Regions from separate parts of the Homo sapiens genome. Here region 1 is linked to region 2. The links are contacts of gene promoters, found by promoter capture Hi-C in blood cells and fetal thymus (Javierre and others, 2016). All regions are on one chromosome and are shown on one strand. The core of a region is centred on a gene start or on the middle of the fragment in contact, and the rest is flanking DNA. Distances in the headings are between cores, read along the strand shown. Region 1 has its middle 18 kb from the start of RUSC2. Region 2 holds the start of PHF24 (PHD finger protein 24).

Region 1 (4,332 bases), core at 525-3,024, 510 kb before region 2:
GATACAACTGAATAGTGGACACCCATTCAAAATGATGATGTAGACCTAGACCTACCGACATGGAAAGATGACGACAATAATAGTGTCAAGTGAACAAAAGGAAACTGGAAATAGCATGCATACTATGATTTTATCTCCCCCATCTTCTAGATCTAGATGTACATATGTGTGTGTGTATACACATATGAAAAGCATAGGATATACTCCCCAACTTTACACTGGCTATCTAAATGGGATGGAATAATTTTAACTTTCTTCACACATTTCTGTATTATTTAATTTTTTTTTTTACAGTGAGCATGGATTATTTTTTAAAGAGAAAAAGCCAATAAAGCTATTTTTGTTTAAAAAGAACAAACGAAGATCTTCAGAATTAAACATAGGTCATTTATATAATGCTTTCTGATATTACAGGACCAGTAAAAGCTTTAATATTTCAGTGGCTAAGGGAGTCTCGATTTGTATTAAGGATGCTTCTCTGAAGCACAGCCTCACTCAGCTCCCACATGCATTTCCCATGGAGCTGTAATCACTCACCTCAGAGACCGTCACCCTCTGTCCATCCTTGTCATAAGTATCACCTGTTGGTAAGTGAACACAGCAGAGACTTGGCAAGGGTTTTAAAGGAGGGTTTGAATTTCTTTAAATTGTTGTTAAAAAAATATACATATATATCACATAAAACTTGCCATTTTAACTATTTTAAATGTAAAATGCAATGACATTAATTATATTCACAATGTTGTGCAACAATCACCACTATATATTTCCAACATTTTTTCAGCACCCCAAACAGAAACTTCCCATTTTTTCCCATCACCAGCCCCTAGTAACCTCTAGTCTATTTTTTGTCTCTATGAATTTGCCTATTCTAGATAGTTCACATAAGTAGAATCATAAAATTTTTGTCTTTTTGTGTTTAGCTTACATCACTTAGCATAATGCTTTCAAGGTTCATCCATGTTGTAGCATGTATCAAATTTCATTACTTTTTATGGATGATTCACATTCCATTGTATGTATATGCTATACCACAGTTTCTTTATCCATTCATCTGTGGATGGACATGTGGGTTATTTCTATCTCTGGACTTATGCGAATAATGTCACAATGAACGTTGGTATACATGTATCCGAGTTCTTGTTTTCAAGTTTTGGGGGTATATACCTAGGAATCAAATTGCTGGGTCATATGGTGATTTAAAGGAGGGGCCTTAAAAGCTTATTTATTCTGATTCCTTCATCCTAGACTTGCAGTCAAGATGCCTGCCCCCCAGTCTCCTCAGGCCACCTAGCTCCCAGTTCCCAGTAAGCTCCTTTCCCTAAGCCAATGGTAAGAAGAGGTTTGCTTGGGCCTCAACTCTTCTCCCCTAAGTGAGAATAAGATGAAGCTAGAAGTTAGTCACTGGATCTGTGATAGACTTCACACCTCAGGAAGCCCTCCAATCATAAGAGTTACCCAGAAGAGATGTGGACACAGTTTTAGAATGTTTGGGATTCTTGACCAGTGGATGACAGACTGAATAGGGGTAGAAGACATGTCTGATGCCAAGCATGGAAACACTCATGGTCCTTTTCAACTTTACCCAGTATATGGTCAGGTCAGAGAATTAAGAGGCTCACCCAAATCAGCTCATCCAAAAATAAGCCTTCAGAGTTTATATAAGTGAAAATTTGTTTGACATGGTTACCAAACAAATAATAGGAAATATAGGAAATAATAGGAAATATTAGAGTGCTCTAGTCTTTTTTTTTTTTTTTTTTAGACAGGAGTTTCACTCTTGTCACCCAGGCTGGAGTGCAGTGGCATGATCTTGGCTCACTGCAACTTCCACCTCCCGGGTTTAAGAAATTCTCCCACCTCAGCCTCCCAAGTAGCTGGGATTACAGGCATGTGCCACCATGCCTGGCTAATATTTTTGTATTTTTTGTTGAGATGGGGTTTCACCATGTTGGCCAGGCTCGTCTCGAGCTTCTGACCTCAGGTGATCCGCCTGCCTCAGACTCCCAAAGTATTGAAATTACAGGCGTGAGCCAACGCACCCGGCCTAGCTTTTTTTAATTAAAAAATTTCAATTACTTATTGATATGAAATTTACTTAGTTAACATATAATTATCCATTTTAATGTGTACAATTTAGAGGCATTTAGTGCATTTACAATGTGCAACTACCACCTCTCTCAAGTTTCTAAACTTTTTCGTCACCCCAGAAAGATTATTCCATGTGTTCTAGTTTTTTAGATGTGATTACCTTCCTCTGTTAGCTAGGACACTGGGTATGACTGTTCACACACATGAGGACTTAACTCTATCACAAAAACAAGCTTATGCTTAAGGCATAAGATAAATAAGGGATTGGGCCTGGGAGACACTGATCAAACTCTGACTACCCTTTGATGGTTTCTCTCAATAATATTTATTGCTGTAAAGGGGAATCAAGAAATTAGCAGCTTCAGTAATACATTGACTGCTCCATTTAATTTATTTTTAATTTTATTATTAATTGACAAATACTAATTGTATATATTTATGGATACAATGTGATGTTTTCATATATGTATACACCATGGAATGATTATATCAAGCTAACTAACATATTTATCACCTTGCATACTTATTTTTTTGTAGTGAGAACATTTAAAACTCTTTTAGTAATTTTGAAATATGCAATACATTATTATTAACTAGGATCAACATGCTGTGCAATGGATCTTGAAGACTTATTCCTCCTGCCTAACTGAAACTTTGTACCCTTTGACCAACATCCATCTGATTTAAAGTGGGAGTGAACTGAGTACATAGACATTGGGGACTCCTTGAGGACAGAGACTAAGTCTTGCACATCTCGGTATTCTCAATGCCCAACACAATAGATTGTACCTATAAGATGCTAAATAAATGCTTTTTGGTTAGAACTGTTTGGGCTGGGTGGTCTTTGCTTAGAGAATAGAGACAGTTGTGAGAATAGGAGATAAATGTGAATTCCAGAGGCTTACAGATTTAGAGCTAGATTAGTCTTGAAAACAATTTGCAAAGTAAAAATTTCCCAGGACTTGGGGAAAGCAGGAAGACATGCATATCATAGAGCTTCCCATTAATAGAACATTTGTTGAAAATCATAATGTTCTGAGTCAGAGTCCCTGTTTTGTCAGAGAACACATATTTGACTTGGCCGAGCTCCTCAGTAAGGGTGGTAGTACGAGCCTGTGCTGGTGTGTTCCTTGGTGCATAAAACATCTTCCGATCCCAGTTGATATATAAACTGTTGCCCAATCTTATTATTTCAACACTAAGGAGAAAGCAGAAAAAGAATGGTTCTGCGTCAGAACAGGACAAGCAAATATATCATCCTGGTTTCTTTCTTAGCAGGGCTAAGCATCTGAAAATCAGAGTGTCTTCCTTGGGATTCTACCCTTCTGAAGGACCCTTCCCACCAGCCAACCCATTGTAATGCTGACTTTGGCCATTATCACCCAAGGCTTTACCACCTGGACCCAGATATACTTGATTAACTTTTTTGAGTCATACCTGGCTTTTATTCTTTTTTTTTTTTTCCATAATGTATCCAGGAAAAGTTACAATTTTGGAATTTCTGCAGTAATGCAAGGTGTGATAGAGTAACAGTTAACTTATAAAAGGCTGTGTTGGCCCAATTGGAGGATTATTGCTCCTGTCACATGGGGAAGACAGAGAACCTTGACACACTCAGAGTTTATTTCAGAAGAAGGAAAGAAGCTATGAAAATCAGGAATAGTTTATGGGCTGACCCTCTGATAAATTTCCAGGCAGAGCCAGCCTGCCTGTGGTGTGTCTCCTCCCACAACAACCTCTTCTCATTTTATATAAGTTTTCCCTATTGCCTCTGTCATACTCCTCTTCTGCTCCAAATAGCGTCCATTATAGATTCTTTATGGCTAACAAGCATGTTCATTTTAAAACAGTGAAGACTTTTAAGGGGTCTCCTTCTTATCATCATTCATACTTAATGTGTGTTAGTCTGCTTTATTATAAGAGTGATTATTAGTAATCCCTGTCTGAGACAGCTGCACTGACAGATGGGGATTTTTTCCTTTGAGGTGAGGAAGGAGGTGCTCAGGTCCTCATCATTGACTCATTACTGATAATCTCTATGCCTGGAGTTGGGACCCCTCCCATCCTTTACCATATCAGCCACCATAGCAATCTCTCTAAACCTTAGCACATAGTAGATACTCAATAAATATTACTAAATAAGGTAATCTAGTTACATAGGGTCCTTTTTTTTTTATTGCCAAAAAGCCCCGGTACAGGGTTTAGAAAGCCTGGAAAGGAGGAAACTAAAATGTGTTTGGG
Region 2 (3,959 bases), core at 63-2,562:
TAATCATCACATTTACTGAGCTTGTACCACTGCAAAACCCTATGCTCGGCAGGCACCTTAATGCAACTTATTAACAAATATCTATTCTTTCTTCTGCTGCTCCTTAGTACTTTTTCCCAAATAAAATTTGAAAAACATTTTATGATTATGTTTTTCATCAGCTTTGTGACCTTGGGCAAATTGCTAAACCTCTCTGAGTCTCAATGTTTAAAAGGGGATAATTTCACAAAGCTGTTGTAAGAGTTATATGAGATGTTTAAACATACCTAGTATACTGCCTAGCGTACTGGTGCTCAACAATCCCATACATCCTTTATTCCTTCCTTCAAAGGCCTTTCCCTCCAGGACCTGCCAAAGTCAGTTATTCCACCTGATCTTACTGCTTCCTTCCGCACGGTCAAACCTAGGGGCTCAAATCTCCTATCTTTGCTTTAGAGGCCTCACTGGTCCTCATCCTCGGCTTAGGGCCCTGTGCTCTCGCAGCAGTTTCTGTCTCCACTAAAATGCAGCGTGGAGCAACTGGGCTACCATGGAGAAGAAAAATCCGAATGGGGAAAGAGGAGGAATGGAAAGAGGCTGCAGCCCTAGAAGGCCCCCACCTCTGGGCCACGGTGTGGGGATACAAGTAAGGGCACATGGAACCCTACAGGGATCCCGGTGGAGGCCAAAGTCCTTGGAGCCGTGGGAAGTCACTCATGGATCCCATGGGAGGATCCCCCTCCCCAGTCAGAGGTTGCTTCCCACAGTTCTAGGGCACAGTCTCAGGTCCTCCTTTTCTAGGGAGCCCTCTGGGGGCTCCACCACCTCGAGGTTCCTGCGGCTCCCCTATGTTCCCAGGTGGTCTTCCATTGAGCCAGCTCCAGAGACCACCCTTGTGCCTGCTCCCACAGTGACACAGAAGGGCTCTCTGGGGCCAGTCCCCTCCACGCTGGGGCTCCCTATGGCAGCAAATGCAGACAGCGCCGCGGGAGTCCATTCCCACAGGGGGTCTTTATGGGGGCGGCTCCCCACAGCACCTCAGGGACTCCCCCAAGGCGTAGAGGCAGCAGCTACTTGGGGTTCATCCAATGACACAGGGGGGCCACCTTGGAGGCGGCTCCCACACAAGCACCTCAGAGTCCCGGAGGACTGTCCGCGGCCGCAGACCCGCCCCTCAGGTGACGGCCCGGTCCCCGCCGCCCCCGCCCCCGCTTACCGGGACCGTCCGGGTGCGGGACGCGGCTCCGGGGCGGCGGACTCTACACACCGCGGGCCCCGCGCAGCCCACGGCAGCCCGAGAGCCGGCGTGCTGGGCCGAGCGCCGGCAGCAGGCGGCGCGGGCGGAGCGGCAGGCTGAGGAGGCGGCGGCGGCGGCGGCGGCGGCGGCGGCGCGCGCGGCCGGAGCACACCCACCCGCCCCGGGGGGCTGCGGCGTGTGCACCCGCGCGAGGTGCCCTGGGCCGGCCGGTGGGCGCGCCCCGCCCCGCCCAGTCCTCTTGCGCCTCCAGGAGACGCCCTCGCGGCTCCGCGGGCGGCGGGTGACCGGCGACGGGCGCGCGGGCGTGGGGCGCCGTGGGAATGCGGGAGGACGGCGGACGGCTCCGATGAGCAGACGGCCCAGGTGCCCGTGGGCGCCCCCCACGAGCGCCCGGCACTGCGGCGCGGGGACTGCGCCAGCGGCCGACTGCGGCAAGGACAGTGCCCGCCCGGAGGAGGCGGCCCGGAGGGGGCGCCTTGGGGGCGCTGGGGCCGCTCACCGCTCGCGTTCCGCGCCGGGGGTTGGGTGGGGGGAAGGCGGGGTCCGGGTGGATGCCGCCACCAGCACGTGCCCGGGGTGGGGAGAATGACTCATCCAGCAGGGCCTACCAGCCGTCCCCCGCAGGGCTCCGGGCTCACGACCCCTGGCACTGGGGCACTCACCTTTGCAGTACCCCACTGGCCTCCGGAGGGTCCCAACGAACCTTCACATAATCCTCGGCTGGCCCAGCCTACCCTATGCGCTGTTTTCTGGGATTATTGGTTTTTCATCTCCAGCAGCGAGGCTGTGCTGTCGTGTAACCCACTTTTTGCTGCAGCAACCTCATCCCTCACAATATCCAAACAGCTAGCTTGTCAGAAGGCCAGCAATTCTGAGGGCTATAATGTGCATTACACCAAACTACATGCTTTGAAGAGGGCAAGAAAAAGATAAAATCGTAAGATAGCCAGCAACTAATTATAAGGAAAAATTGAAGATATGCAAATGATATGTCGAGAGCCCTTTAATTTATATTAATTGCACTTACATTTTTAAAATACCTTTATTTTCTTGTGCATTCAATTTATTTACCTCAAATATAATGCATGTCATTTTTTTGAGCGTCTAGTATTTGTTACATACTGTGCTAGGTACCCTGGTGCGATATAAAAAAGAAATTTTGCCCTTAACATGGAATTTACCAATAGAGGATATAAGGCAAGTATGGTATATTTCTATCACTTTAAAACACGAAGTGCCAGGTACTATTCTAAATGGTTTAAATATGTTGTCATTAATTTTCACACCATCCCTTTGAGGGAGTCTACTGTTAGTTTCGACATTTTGCCAGTGATGAAACTGAGGCAAAGAGAGGTTAAACAACTCGCCCAAGGTCACATGGCTAATATGTGATGGAGGTGAGACTGAAATTCAGGTATTCTGATTTCATACCGCAAGCTCCTATTTCTCAGTCCTGCCACTGAGAAAGGAGAGGCTATAAACCATTAATATATGGAGTTCTAAAATTAGTACTTATTAGTTCTAAAATTAGTGCTTATTTCTCAAGAGACACTATGGTTATTTTGCTTGTTGTGAAACTAGCACTAAAAAGCAGACTGAGCCTTCCATATAGTCTGGGGGTCCCCCCCTAACTTTCTTTAGAATTACATCATACCGACAGTTTCACAGATAGACTTCTCTGAACTGTTTTTAGTAAGTGTTTTATTTCTAGGCTGTCTGATGGGCTTATATGGAAAAGGAGGTTGTAACATCATCATATAAATCTCTGTCGGTTAATTCCTTCCTTCATTCAAAAAAATTTATATTGTGGCCAGGCGTGGTGGCTCACGCCTGTAATTCCAGCACTTTGGGAGGCCGAGGCAGGTGAGTCACCTGAGGTCGAGACCAGCCTGGCCAACATAGTGAAACCCCACCTCTACTAAAAACACAACAATTAGCCAGGTGCAGTGGCACGCGCCTGTGGTCCCAGCTACTCGGGAGGCTGAGGCAGGAGAATCTCTTGAATCCAGGAGGCAGAGGTTGCAGTGAGCCAAGATCGCACCACTGCATTCCAGCCTGGGTGACAGAGCGAAACTCCGTCACACACACACACAAAAGTACATTGTGTATCTGTACAATGCCAGGCATTGTGCTGAGAACTAGAAAGGGTGCAAATAAGAGTAAGACACAGTACTTTCCCTCAAAGAACTATAATCTCATAGAGGACAAGCATTGACAGAGAACCATAATCATAATACAAAAGAGAAAATCAGTGTGCGCAATAGAGGAATGAAATACAATGGAAGTTCCAAGGTGGGAGAGACAGATTACTTTATGAAGGGAGGTACTTGGGTTAAGGAATGCATAATGACCATTTAAATTATTGTTGGTATTAAAACATTAAAAGTCATATCAAAATTTATCAATTTCATTTTTTAATTACATGCAGTTTTTCTCATGTTGAGGAGAGACAGCTTTTACTACGTTATTGTTCAGAGAATGGAGAGGTTAGAAAGTGCAAACTTTTTGGAGGTAGTTTATGCAAGTGGAGGACACAGAATTATGCACAAGATAAGATTTTCAAGGTCAAAGGAATAGCAAAAGAAAAAGCAAGGTGGGATTGAATAAGGTTGGTCTGGGGGCAGCTGGGACTCTGACAAGGTGAAAGGGTTGCTAGAGAGCAGCCTGTACCACTCTTTTTTTTGAGACAGAGTCTCATTCTGTTGCCCAGGCTGGAGTGCAG

The links. The method cuts DNA at HindIII sites, captures the fragments that hold promoters and counts their contacts. A CHiCAGO score of 5 or more calls a contact.
Region 1: a fragment that was not itself captured here is called in contact with the fragment with the promoter of PHF24 in region 2 in 3 of 17 cell types (M2 macrophages, megakaryocytes and erythroblasts); the score reaches 7.3 in M2 macrophages.

What each region holds. Positions count from the first base shown.
Region 1 is chr9:35,469,977-35,474,308 of GRCh38, reverse strand. It overlaps the pseudogene ATP8B5P. Among named protein-coding and RNA genes, the nearest start is that of RUSC2, 18 kb to the left of the region's middle. The HindIII fragment of the contact is 1,104 bases long and covers 1,223-2,326 here.
Region 2 is chr9:34,955,638-34,959,596 of GRCh38, reverse strand. PHF24 (PHD finger protein 24) reads right to left here and starts at 1,312. Exons shown (of 8, transcript NM_015297.3): 1 at 1,196-1,312. RefSeq lists a silencer at 1,185-1,264 and an enhancer at 2,614-2,753. The HindIII fragment of the contact is 16,428 bases long and covers 1-3,959 here.